Linked DNA regions of Homo sapiens: all the other regions are linked to region 1. The links are contacts of gene promoters, found by promoter capture Hi-C in human tissues and cell types (Jung and others, 2019). All regions are on one chromosome and are shown on one strand. The core of a region is centred on a gene start or on the middle of the fragment in contact, and the rest is flanking DNA. Distances in the headings are between cores, read along the strand shown.

Region 1 (4,088 bases), core at 903-3,402:
TTCCTAGGAAGAGTGCTCTGGAGGCAGCCTTCTGACGTGGAGGTTGTTGGTTACCAAGCATTTAAAGTGAAGTGAACTATTGTCACTCTGTCTTAGGATGACACAGTGCACTTTCCACAGGCCTGGGTAGGCCTAGGTATGGATTTTTGTACTGGAGATCAGACAGGTTGGTATTTAAAAACTGGTGGGGAGTGGGGGTGGTGGAGAGGTTGGGGAGGTGGCGGGCGACTAGGAGTGTGAAGGGGAGGGGGGATGGTGGTATTTGCTTTAGACGCATTATGCAGGAGGTGGGAACAGCAGGACTGAGGGGTGTGAGAGGTGCCTCTTCTCTCTGTTTTTCCTCCCTGATGTACACTCTTCACACTTGCCTAGAAATCAGTTAACAGGTGAGAACTGCTTTACAAATCTAGGCCTCAGTTGCTAAAGAACCAAACAGAAGCCCACTCTCTTTCCTGCCTGCCCTTCCCAGTCCCTGAAGGAGAAGGTGAATGCAGTATTCTCTGTTGGGGAGGGGCAAGTGAGGAGGTTGAACTGGAAGCCAGGAGTCCCCTCTGGCCCTCTGAGCTCGCCAAGCCTGACTTTCCGTTTAACAGGAGTAAGGGAGGTTACCCCACACCTGCTCCCGGCTCATCCCTGCCCCAGTGCCTGCTAATTGCTCCCATGCCCCTGTTCCCTTCTTTTTTTCCTCCCTTCGGGGGCTCAGCACAGCAAACAGGCAGATGGGGGAGAGGTGTGAGATTATCGTGGGGAGGGGAATGAATTTTCCATTATTAATAACAGCAACAACAACAACACTTCGCCTGTTGGCACAGCACTCACTAGTTTATCTAGTGCCGTCACACCTGTGATCTCTTTGGATCCCAGAGGTGCAGACTGAAACCCTGGGGTTCTGATTCCCAGCCTCTGACACTGTTCACATGTCCAAGCAGGCCACTTCTTTACAGACACACACATGCCCATCTGGCCATTGCCAAAGGCCATGTCTAGACCTTTACTTAAAATGTGCGCTGCCGGGCGCGGTGGCTCACGCCCGTAATCCCAGCACTTTGAGAGGCCGGGGCCGGCTGATCACCTGAGGTCAGGAGCTCCAGACCAGCCTGGCCAATATGGTGAAACCCCGTCTCTGTTAAAAATACAAAAATTAGCCGGGTGTGGTGGCGCATGCCTCTAATCCCAGCTATTCGGGAGGCTGAGGTAGGAGAATCGCTTGAACCCGGGAGGCGGAGGTTGCAGTGAGCCAAGATCGCGCCACTTCACTCCAGCCTGGGCAACAAGAGCGAAACTCCGTCTCAAACAAAACAAAACAAACAGAAAAAAATGTGCGCTAGCCCCCTACGAATGCTGCCCTCTCGGCTTATGTCAATCTCAATTTCAGTAAGTCCCCTCCACTTCTGTGAAACGTCTACCAAATACACTGGAAAAGGGTCGGCAAGGTGCCTTGGAGACCATCTAGTCCAACTTTGTCGCTGGTCCAGAGAGAAGGGCTGGGCCGAGGACACAGCTGGTGCGGGATAGAACCACCCCCGCCTCCTCCCTCCCTGGCGCACACATGCATGCACACGCGCGCCTGCTCACGGCGCTCCTCCTTCTCGCAATGCCCTAGGCAGCTGCAAACTTCGGTCCCCTAGAGCTTCTCCCTAGGGGCTGCCCACAGCGGGTGTTTCGGGAGTTGAACCTGTACACCTTGTTTTCCCCTTTAGAGTGGAATGAGGTGGGAGGAGCTCGCTGTCCTCCGGAAACTAGAGGGGGATCTTTTATGAAGTTACAAATCGTTAGCCTATGAAAACTCTGATTTCACACACGAGAGGCGAGTTGGCCCCAGGACACGGGCGTTGACACGCACCGGGTTGTCCCGGCAGCCGAAGGCACCTTTGCATAAGCGCCGCGTCTCCCAGTCCCCTCCGAGCGTTCCTCAGCCCCCGCCCCACCGCCCGCCTCTCTCCCTCCTCCTCTCCGGCTTCAGATCGTCCAGTCTCCCTTTCCCGCCCGGCGCCGCAACAAGTGCGGGCGTCGCGGCCCCTCTTACCCTGGCCTCGGTCCATGGCGCCGGCCCGGTCCCCGGGGAGCGGGCCGCAGGGCGCAGGGGCTCCGGCGCGGCTGGTAGCGGCCGGCGCGCTGCGCTCTCAGGCCAGCCCAGCGGCCGGCGCTCTCTGCGGTCCCCTCCCCCAGACAGGATGCTCGCCGGCAGCCCCCGCCCCGCCCGCGCCCGCGCCCGCCCCTCAGAGCCGCTCCCGGAATAGACCCGAGCACGCCTCGCCCCCTGGGCCGCAGCCCGCTGTCCCGTGGTGCCGCACACGCCCCGCCGCGCCCTGCCGCTCGCTCGCCCTCCGCGGCGCTCCCACTTGGGCTTGGAGGACCCTTTTCCCCGTCCGCACGCGTTCGTTCCCGCGCCCGCGCGGCCTGCCCCAGCCCGGACCCAGGAGGTGTGCGGCTTTGCTTGCACTCCGCTAGCGATGGGGTCTTACCACCGCACCCCTCAGCCGGCTCCATGCCGGAATGCGGAGACTGTTGGAGCGCGTTTTTATCCTAGGGAATCAAAACCCCCTTCCCTGCAGCCGCCACCCATTTCCTGGCTTTGGGCTTGTCTTCTCCATTCGCCGCGGGTCTTTCTTGAGCACCTTCTAAGCCAGACAGTGGGCCCGCGGCGATGCCGGTGCAATGTCAGTGGTGTTGCGAAAGAGGAGTTAAATAATAACAAAGATCTTCAGAAAGAAAAGCACCTGGGAAAGGGAGAAAGAGAGGCTTGCTGAAAGGTGGGCAAGGGCTTGGGACACTTTCAACTTTTGAGGTTCCTTGTGTACTAAAACGTGAAAACATAACGAGGATCTGGGAGAATTCAGAAAAAGAATAGAAAAATGAGTAACACGTGAAAACATGCAGAACAGGGTGATAAAAAATGTGGAAATGAATACTTTTAGCATACAAAATACAGTGCAATATAAGTGTACTTTTCGCAAGATTGTAGAAAATATTGCTATGACCAGTGTGGAACAGTAATGGGATCTAAGTTTAAAGCTGTATGAAGAATGTCAACTTCTTCACCTTATTAGTATATCCCTGTGAAAATAGGTCTCACTCATTTATACACAATATCAAATGTCTGACTTTAAGACCCTTCATAAAGTCCAGGACCAATTGTTCTCCTAGACACTGCTCCTCCCACCATGGGCCAGGCCATGGTTTTCAGCTTTGAGCTGACCACTGTTCCCTACTTAGAACATTCTGGAACAGGGAACAGCTACCACAGAGGTATGGAGGCAACAAAAGGCCTGGGAAAGACCCTCCTGTACTTTCCTGGACTGGGAATATTTTCTTTTCTTCTTTTTTTTTTTTCTTGAAAAGTCTCCCTTTGTCGCCGAGGCTGGAGTGCAGTGGCGCGATCTCGGCTCACTGCAACCTCTGCCTCCCGGGTTCAAGCAATTCTCCTGCCTCAGCCTCCTGAGTAGCTGGAATTACAGGCGCCCACCATCACTCCGGGCAAATTTTTGTATTTTTAGTAGAGACGACGTTTCGCCATGTTGGCCAGGCTGGTCTCGAACTCCTGACCTCAGGTGATCCACCTGCCTCGGCCTCCCAAAGTGCTGGGATTACAGGCGCCAGCCACCTAGCCTGGCCGGGAATATTTTCTCTATTGCTTTTATGGGCAAATTAAAATTAACATTTTCTTAAAATATTGCATCAGTAATTTAGTGTGTGTGTGTGTGAGCACTCAGACCAAATGTGATGTTGTGAACAGTGTATGAAAACTTGTGCATGGCTCTTGTTCTGTTAGTTTGGTGCAAAAGTAATAGTGGTTTTTGCCACTGAAAGTAATGGCAAAAAACGCTATTACTTTTGCTCCAATCTAAATACTACATAGTATAATAACTTTTCGTCAATGAGGTTTTCTTGCTCATCTGTGCTATGGGAAGCCTCATACTGTAAGTCCTCACAGGACTGTTGGTAGGGCAAATGAAATAATACAAACCCACTTTATAAACCACAAACAGCTATAAAATATGAGCCATTATTATTTTCTGAGTTCCTTTTTGTTGCTGTCCCCTTTTCCAATTTGAAAAGGTCAGTTTCAATTCTAAAGCAGCCAACCA
Region 2 (4,088 bases), core at 430-2,929, 310 kb after region 1:
TAACGAAGAATCTGACACCCAGAAATCACCCAGTAAGTGAAAGATACTGTTACGAGTGGTATTACTTTTTCAATTCTCATTACCACTATGTTTGAAGTCGTTTGTGAGCTAAAATGTCTGGAGACCGCCTGCTCTGTATGAAGTGGAGGAAATCTTGGGGCATCTAGGAGGGAGGGAGAGGTGCTGATCTAGGAGTCAGAATAGCAGGATCTTAGCTCAGCTGTGAGATCTCAGTGGCTGTAAAGGGTGTGTGTTGCCTGAGATGATCCCCAAGTGCCTTTCCCAGCTGGAACAGACCACATTGTGATATGCACCAAACAGATGGCCTGCATTCTCTGTAGGAGCCTGCACAGCCCAGGTGCAGCTACCATCATTGAGGGCCCTGATTCGGTTGTTTCTCCAAAATTGGCCAAAGCTGCTAGCAGGTTTCTGTCCCATTAGCCACCAGCATGACCAGTGCCTGGTGTCTGGCATGAGGTGAATGGTTAATAAGCCTGAGTTGGATGAATGAATGAACTCCAGTATGTGAGGGAGTGGTGCCTGTGACCCCTAAAGGTGGAGCAGGTTTGGTTTCTTTTAGTATAAATATTTAGAATATGACCATGATTGCAGTTTTTGGCAAGAGTGAATCACTTACTCATGGTCATGGCCTTGAACCTAACCAAACCGCCAGCCAGCACCAGAATAAACTGCACAGAATCGCTGGCCTCAGCCAAAAGGAAATTGACTTTCTATTGACCCATGAGACAGGTCCGGTTTTTTTTTTTCTTTTAAATTTTTTACAAACAGTACAATGTCTAGTAAATCTGACCAAACCAGATACCTCTATTTATTTTTTTCTAAAACCTTGAACTGGAACAAAATTAGACCCCACATAATCCTTATTTATAATATTACTCAATGTGTGCAAATAGTAATGATGTTAACTAACATTCATAGGGCAATGCTATGTGTATTATCTCATGTATTCCTCAAACACACCTATGAAGTAGGTGCTATTTTAATTCCTATTTTACAAGCAAGGAAAAGTTGACAGCTAAATAACTTTTGCCAAGGTCACGCGGCCATTAGAAGGCAAAGTGAGCATTTTAATCATTTGAATCCAGGTCCACTTGATTCCCAAGCTGGTGCTCTCAGCTCTCTGGCTCTCCTGTGTTCTCAGCATCAGCGACAGCTGCAGTTTATTGGGCATACATTGTGAGGCAGTCACAGGGCTGAGCATTCTTCACACATGAGCTTGGTCAATCCCTCCACAGTACTATCAGGAGTGCACCATTGTTAGCTCCATTTTAGCGATGAGGAAACAGGGATTTCATGAGATTATTTAACCTGCCTGCCATCTGTGGATGGTGGTGTTAAGCGCTTCATGTAGAGTGATAGAGCTCAGCAAGCTCCAGGGCAACAAAGAATGGGGGACTTTTCCAGTGTCACACAGTGAATCAGTGGTTGAGCTGGAACAGAACTTCATTGAATACTTTTCATTCACTGCTAGGAGAATGTTGTAGTTAACAGTGGGAGGGGGACCTGCTATAAGGTCAATCTGGTGTGTCACTTGCTCTGGTGGCAGGAAAGAGTTTAGTGGATTAGAGCATATACTTTGGATCATACAGACCTGTGCTCAGGGCCACCATGGGAAAGAGCCTTCCTCTCCCTGAGCCTGTGTTTCTTCTTCTGTAGAATGGAACAATAACCATAGGCCTGCCTCTTGGGTTTGCTGGAGAAGAAAATGAGAGAACACACATTAAATGTCTGGCACAATGACTGCCATGCAGTTAATATGGAATAGCTGTTGTTGTTATGTTGTTAATTGAAATGATCCATGATCCAAAAGAGGCTTGGAAACACTGCACCATATGGAGAAGGCTTGAAATCCACTTCGCAATGACTGCCTTGTGATAGGAAGGAGATGTAAAGGCTGAAGAGTGTCTATAAGTGGTACGCAGGCACTTGGGACACACAAACACATACACACATACATGCTCCTGAAACCTGCACGCACATGTACTTGTGGCATATGTACACTCATACACACGTGCACACACATGTACACACAATATACTTGTACACACATGCTCACATACATGCACCTGCATATGCTCTCACATGGACATACACATATGGACAATATACTCGTGGCATCTATGTTTTCATACATGCATCTGCAACCCACACACACATGCACTTGTAACATACACATGCACAAACAACATACTTGTGGCATACAGATGCTCTTACACATGCACACACATGCATGGACACATGCGTCACACACAATACACTTGTAGCATACACATGCTCACATGCATATGCACACACATACATGCACACACATATACCTGTGCACACACACATTGCATCTGCACACACTCTCTCCCTTCCTTAGCCTGGTGAACACCTACACATCCTTTAGCTCTCAGGCCAAAGGTCACAGCTTTAGGGCAGCCACTTTGACTCAGGCCAGGACACTCAGGCTGAGCTATCTTGGCACCTAGCACCTCCACCTCTCATCCAAACTGTCCTCTCTCAGCCCATAGGTACTTCAGTCCCAGGCTCTGTTGCCATCACTCTAGGGAGCTTCAGGGTGCTCAGGGATCCTCCTCAGCTTGCATCTCATTGCATGTCATTGAATAATTGTAATAAGTTGCTTAATTCTACAATTCCTGCTAGAAGGCCACTTCTGTGAAAGGCAGGGATAAAGCTGACTCTTCTCCACAGATCAGAATCATTTGATGCAGACTGGCACATAGTATGTCTTCAATACCTAGATGCCATTGATTGAACAGAACCACCAGGATCTCATTTGCATGCAAGCTGAAGAATAAGCTTGTTCATATTGGGGTTACCCTGCACAAGATGTCTCCTATGGGGTTTTTAGCCACGGGGTCTCTAATGATTTGGAGCCTCACTCAGAGGAAGCCAAGCCTCAGAATGCTGTATAAATTGGTAAAAAAAAAAAAAAATCTAACTTTGAAATGCATTCCTAGTCACCAGGAAAACACGTTTTGGGGGGAGAGAATGTCTAACAAGCCTGAAATGTAGACAACTCCTTATTGCTTCTGACTGCACTTTCTCCTGGGAAGTTAGGGGACACCAGCAGTTGCCATGAGTAGGACTGACCAGTCACTGTCTGGGCTGAGGCAGACTGCTTTCTTTATTTTACAGCAGTAGGGAACCCCTTGTTAGACATAATGAAGGCAGAGGTTGATGGGCAGATGGAGATGAGAAACACAATGCCTGGTGGTAAAAAGCAGGTGGCTCAGCTTAGAGTCATTTATTTTAATTCATTCATTTATTTAAGAAATAGTTCTGGGCACTTTCTAAGTGCCAGGCACCGTGTTAGCTGCTTGGGACATAGGAGAAAATGGGATAGACGTAGTCCTTGACCTGGGGGTGCTCAAGTTTAGCTGGGGAGGTGGACAAGGAAATAGGAAACCAATATGCAGTGTGATCAGTGCTCCAGGGGGATTCAGAAGAGGAGTTCCAGGGAGAGTGGTGCTGGCTTCTGGAAGAAGGGATGTCTAAGCCAAGATCTGGAGGATGAGCCAGGCTAGGAGATGGGGAAATGTGGTATGAAGGAGGAGAACAGTCAGTGGGCAGACCTCAAAAGGAGAGACATGGCAGGAGTTCAGAGTGGCAGCAGCGGGGTGGGGGTGGTGGCAGGGAGGGCAGGGTCCCGTCATGCACAGCTCATTCCTGAGGACTGCTCCCTAGGGTGATGGCAACAGAGCCTGGGACTGAAGAGCCCATGGGCTGAGAGAGGACAGTTTGGATGAGAGATGGAGGTGCTCACGGGAACTGGGGCTTTGCATGAGGCTGCGGGAGCCTGGTGGGAGTGTCTCTGGGGAGCAGTGATGCAGACCCAGCTGCTGCAGGCCTGGGTACTGGGGATGTGGGTGAAGGAGATTTGCTGTTCACTGCTTTCTCCCCTGGCACATGGACAAGGAGGCCTAGATGACCGCTGAATCCCTCCCAGAACTGCTGTCTGAACACTGGGAACTGTGTGCCCCCCTCCCTCCCACAAACCACCCCATGCCTCTGTCTCCCTGGCCCAGCTCTTTCCATCCTGCAGTATCCACTCTGGCTGCCCC
Region 3 (4,088 bases), core at 1,153-3,652, 280 kb after region 1:
GTTTGTTGACAAAGGCCAGCTTGCTTATGATGGGAGGTGTGAACATTTACAGCAAACTAAGGAAACTAAGGCTCAGAGAGGCATATATCTGTACTTCTAAAGAGGAACAGTTTGTCATCTTACTATGAATATATTTTAAATGACCAATGTCCTAGTAGGAGAAAGGAACTGCAAGTGCAAGCAGAGACAGGAATAAATCAGAGAAAGAACAAAACAGAGTAGCCTAGCGCACCCAGAGCATACCATCATGAAACCTACTTTGGGGCTATCTCAGTTTCCCCAGGATGGTTCACCCATGAGAGAAAGCAGGGAAAACTGGCTTAAGGGAGCTATATTTTGAGTGAGAGGAGAGGTTGCTTGGAAATGACTCCTAGAAAAGAAGCAGCCCCCACCCCATCAAACACACACACATACACACAAACATGCACACACTTGTGTATCCCCACACCCCAAGAACTCATTCTTTTCTGTTATGTATCTCATTTTTCCCCAGTGCAGGTGGATTGATTCATAGGGACATTTCCCAAATGTCCTGGTTGCTATATAGTTCTTCTCTCTCCGTTCATTCCAGCTGCTTCTGAATACCAGATTGTTGAAGCTCTTGGGTCCCTGTGACTCACTCTATCCTGGGTCACTCTCCAGATCCCCTTGAATGAGTGGTTCCAGTATTCATGTTCTGGAAGAATGGCATAAGATTTTATCAGACTGTTTTATTATCAGTGCAAACCGGACAATACAGAATTGTACCAACATCTGCAGCAATATACATAGGTGGTCTGAAAATGTCAACACTTTGCAATCCCCAAAACTCACATGTAAGTCCTTCCTTCAGAGTGATTTTCCAAGGTACACAGTTCTGCTGACCAAGGTATAGCTCCTGCCAAAGGATTCAACAACTACAATGTGATTTCTGGATGTGAATGAATTCAGATATTCCTCAGCCATATTTATGCTGGTTAAGGTAGACCTAGGTTCAAATCTTGTCTCAAAGTGCTTAGTATCTGTGTAGCATTAACAAATCACTTTATCTTTCTGAGCTATGGCTCTTTCAACTGTAAAATGGGGATAATAAATACCTATATAGCAAAGTTATTGTAAAATTAATGAATTAATATGTCTAAAGCAGTTAGCATGGTGGCTGGAATGTAATAGGTCGTTAATAGATTATGGCTATTTTTAAAACCCATGACTTGAGCCTGTAATCTTGGAAAAAAGACTCAAAAAGGGAATTCAATGACTCCAAAAGGAACTCAAGGAAATATAAAGAAAATACGTTAAAAAACAATGACAATAGCAAATTCTTCCACAATCCAAGACATTGTTTTGTGTGTGTTGTGTGTGTTATATGAGTGTGTGGTTGGTGGTTGTTTTTTTATTTCCTTCATGTCTGGGCTCAGTAGGGCACAACTAGACCAGATAAGGGAAACATTTTGAGTGAGAGAGAAGGTTGCTTGCAAATGACATCTCAAATCCAAAGAAGAAAGCAAAGTGATAACCCTTAAACATTAAAGTTATGGGGATCGTGTTTTTGAACCATGAGGTGGAACAAGTGACATAACAAACCACCCCAAAAGTTTCTGATTTAAAACAGCTTATCATCATCTGTTGGTCTGATGGATTGACTGGGCTCACCCGGGCAATTCTCGCTTGGGTTCTCTACTGTTGTTGCAGTCCAATAGTGGCCAGAGCTGGAGTCATCAAAGGCTCCTCTGGGCTGGGCATCGAAGATGGCTTCCTCACGGGGCTAACAGTTGATGCTTGCAGTTGGTTGGGAGCTCAGCTGGGGCTGTGATCAACTGGAGCCGTGAGCCATGTCGACTCCATGTGGCTTGGCCGTCTTACAGCATGGTGGCTGGTTCCAAGAGAGTGCATTCCAAGAGCTAGCATTCCAGGAGATTAAACGGGGAGCTGCAAAGCTTCCTATGACCTGGCCTCAGAAGTCACACAGTGTCACATCTGCTATATTTTATTGGTTATACAAAGCCAGCCTAGAGCTGGTATAGGAGGGGATTACTCAATGGCATGAGCACTGGGAAGCCTGGTTCACTTGGGGCTATCTTGGGGACTAGATAGTAAGGCAGCTTTACAAGACCAGATAACATTCCCATCTGGGGTAGGATTTTTGATAATGATTTTCATGTCCATGGGAGAAGGAGTAAAGATGCTTTGTTACCCACTTTTCATAAAATCTAGCTTGTTCTCTTGAATCTTCCACCACTCAACTTCTAGCCTGTGTGCATAGAGTTTTTATTACCCAGTAAGGCCAAAAGAACCCAGCCTTGTCCTTAAGACATGCAGGAAAAATATTAGGTAAGTCACCTTCTCTGTCTCCAAGTGGGCAGATGATATGACTCTCTGTCCTTGGCCAGAGGAGGTGCAACAGCATTCTCGGCACTTCCTTGTGGGTATCTGGAGAAGTGGCCAAAGTGGAGATGGCTCACCTTTAGGTGCACTCACTATGTAAGCTTACTCTGGGCCACAGAGTGGAGATTTTCAGATGAGAAGTTTCATGATCTAAAGAACACACACACACACACACACACACACACACACACACACACACACACAGATTTTGAATGAGGCCTCGAGTGAGGACATGACTTGGTGAGCTTCCCATGCTTGTTAAGTGGTGGGAGAGTGACCACAGCTTTGTTCTTCTCAGTCTTAATCTGATGATCTTCACTGAATCACTCCACCACACTCGTTATAAGGTTTCCCTTTGTTTCTGTAGTCATTCCTGGCACTTAGTTATTTCAGTGTTTATATATAGTGAGACTCTTTGAAAATGCTATAGGTGAGAAACCCAGCCAAATATGTGGAAGTCTTATGGAATATGCCCAAGACTATAGATGTAAAGACCATGCAGGTCTGCTGTGGGATAGAAATGTTAGCTGGAAGCTCAGCCTGATCTCTCATGAATAAGGCCTGGGAGAGTTTCAACACCTTATCTCCTCAAGTTTACTTACATACTCAATAAATAGTTGTTAGATTCCTTCTATGTGCCTGGCACTGCCCCAGGCTGTAGCAATAGATCAATGAAAAAAACTTATAAAGTTCTTGTCCTCTTGGCACTTGCAATCCAATGAGAATATTCCTGAACATTCCCAATGGTGACAGATAGAACCAATCTTTGTTCAGAACAAAGACCATTGGCAAAAATGTGCTTTTTCTCCTCTCCCCACAGAGGGGTTACAGTGGTTAAAATAATTTAAATCAAATTAAATTTAGAAGCATTTGATTTACACATTTCTTCTAAAGTGTGAGACTAATAAGATGATTTTGGAATGGATCTAAAATAAAGAATTTCAGATTAGAGAATTAAGCACAATGAACTACCATGAAATACATTAGCTGGGGAATTAATATTTCATTTTCCAAAAATCATTTTAGAAACAATAGCTCCCTGGCATTGAACTGGAGTCTTTGAAAACTCTGCCTCTCCTTGGAATTCTTGATATGACCTCATATTATTGCATTGTTAAATAATCTCAGCATTTTTTGGGTGTAACTGTTTTAACAAGTTAACACTTGATGCTGTTTATACAACGTGTCCCTTGGAGGAGCAAGACAGAACAGGACTGGGAGATTACAGCATGGGAATGGGATTTAGGCTCGTCACATTTGGTTGACTGAGCAATTCTTATGCTCTGATTTGGCTTATTATGATGCCTACAAGTCACCCTAACAAGTGGCTTAATAATTTGTCAAAAAAGGTATCTGTCATGTACTCAAACCTGTTGTGTATGAATAATCTAATTGAAGTTCACTTTTAAAATGATAATTCAACAAGCATTTATTAAGAACTTACTGCATTCTAAGCAATGTAGTTGATGGAGGTTGCTACCCTGGCAGATCTTAACTCACAAAGGGTCAGAGAAACAGCAGAAAAATGAGTGCTATGATAAAAGTAAGACAAGGAGATGTAATAGGGAGTGAGTGGGGTTACCTTGGCTTTCCAGGGCTTCCGTTTTCTCACTAAGTCTATCATTTAGAGCTGGGACCTAATGGAAGATCTCTAAGGTTCTTTTAGTTCTAACATTTAGTAATCACATGATTTGTGCTATTAGGTTTTTAGAACAGTCACTAGC

What was found. The method cuts DNA at HindIII sites, captures the fragments that hold promoters and counts their contacts. A contact is called where the count stands out against the background at its distance.
Region 2: a contact is called between a fragment that was not itself captured here and the fragment with the promoter of AFAP1L1 in region 1, in 1 of the 25 tissues and cell types used here (IMR-90 fibroblasts).
Region 3: a contact is called between a fragment that was not itself captured here and the fragment with the promoter of AFAP1L1 in region 1, in 1 of the 25 tissues and cell types used here (thymus).

The regions. Positions count from the first base shown.
Region 1 is chr5:149,269,923-149,274,010 of GRCh38, reverse strand. It overlaps AFAP1L1 (actin filament associated protein 1 like 1), which reads right to left and starts at 2,152. Exons shown (of 19, transcript NM_152406.4): 1 at 2,027-2,152. The coding sequence starts at 2,042. RefSeq lists enhancers at 552-1,091, 1,092-1,633, 1,634-2,173. The HindIII fragment of the contact is 7,342 bases long and covers 1-4,088 here.
Region 2 is chr5:148,958,543-148,962,630 of GRCh38, reverse strand. No RefSeq gene overlaps it. Among named protein-coding and RNA genes, the nearest start is that of MIR584, 100 kb to the left of the region's middle. The HindIII fragment of the contact is 8,437 bases long and covers 1-4,088 here.
Region 3 is chr5:148,986,290-148,990,377 of GRCh38, reverse strand. It overlaps SH3TC2 (SH3 domain and tetratricopeptide repeats 2), which reads left to right. Exons shown (of 17, transcript NM_024577.4): 17 at 1-4,088. Among named protein-coding and RNA genes, the nearest start is that of MIR584, 74 kb to the left of the region's middle. The HindIII fragment of the contact is 3,723 bases long and covers 541-4,088 here.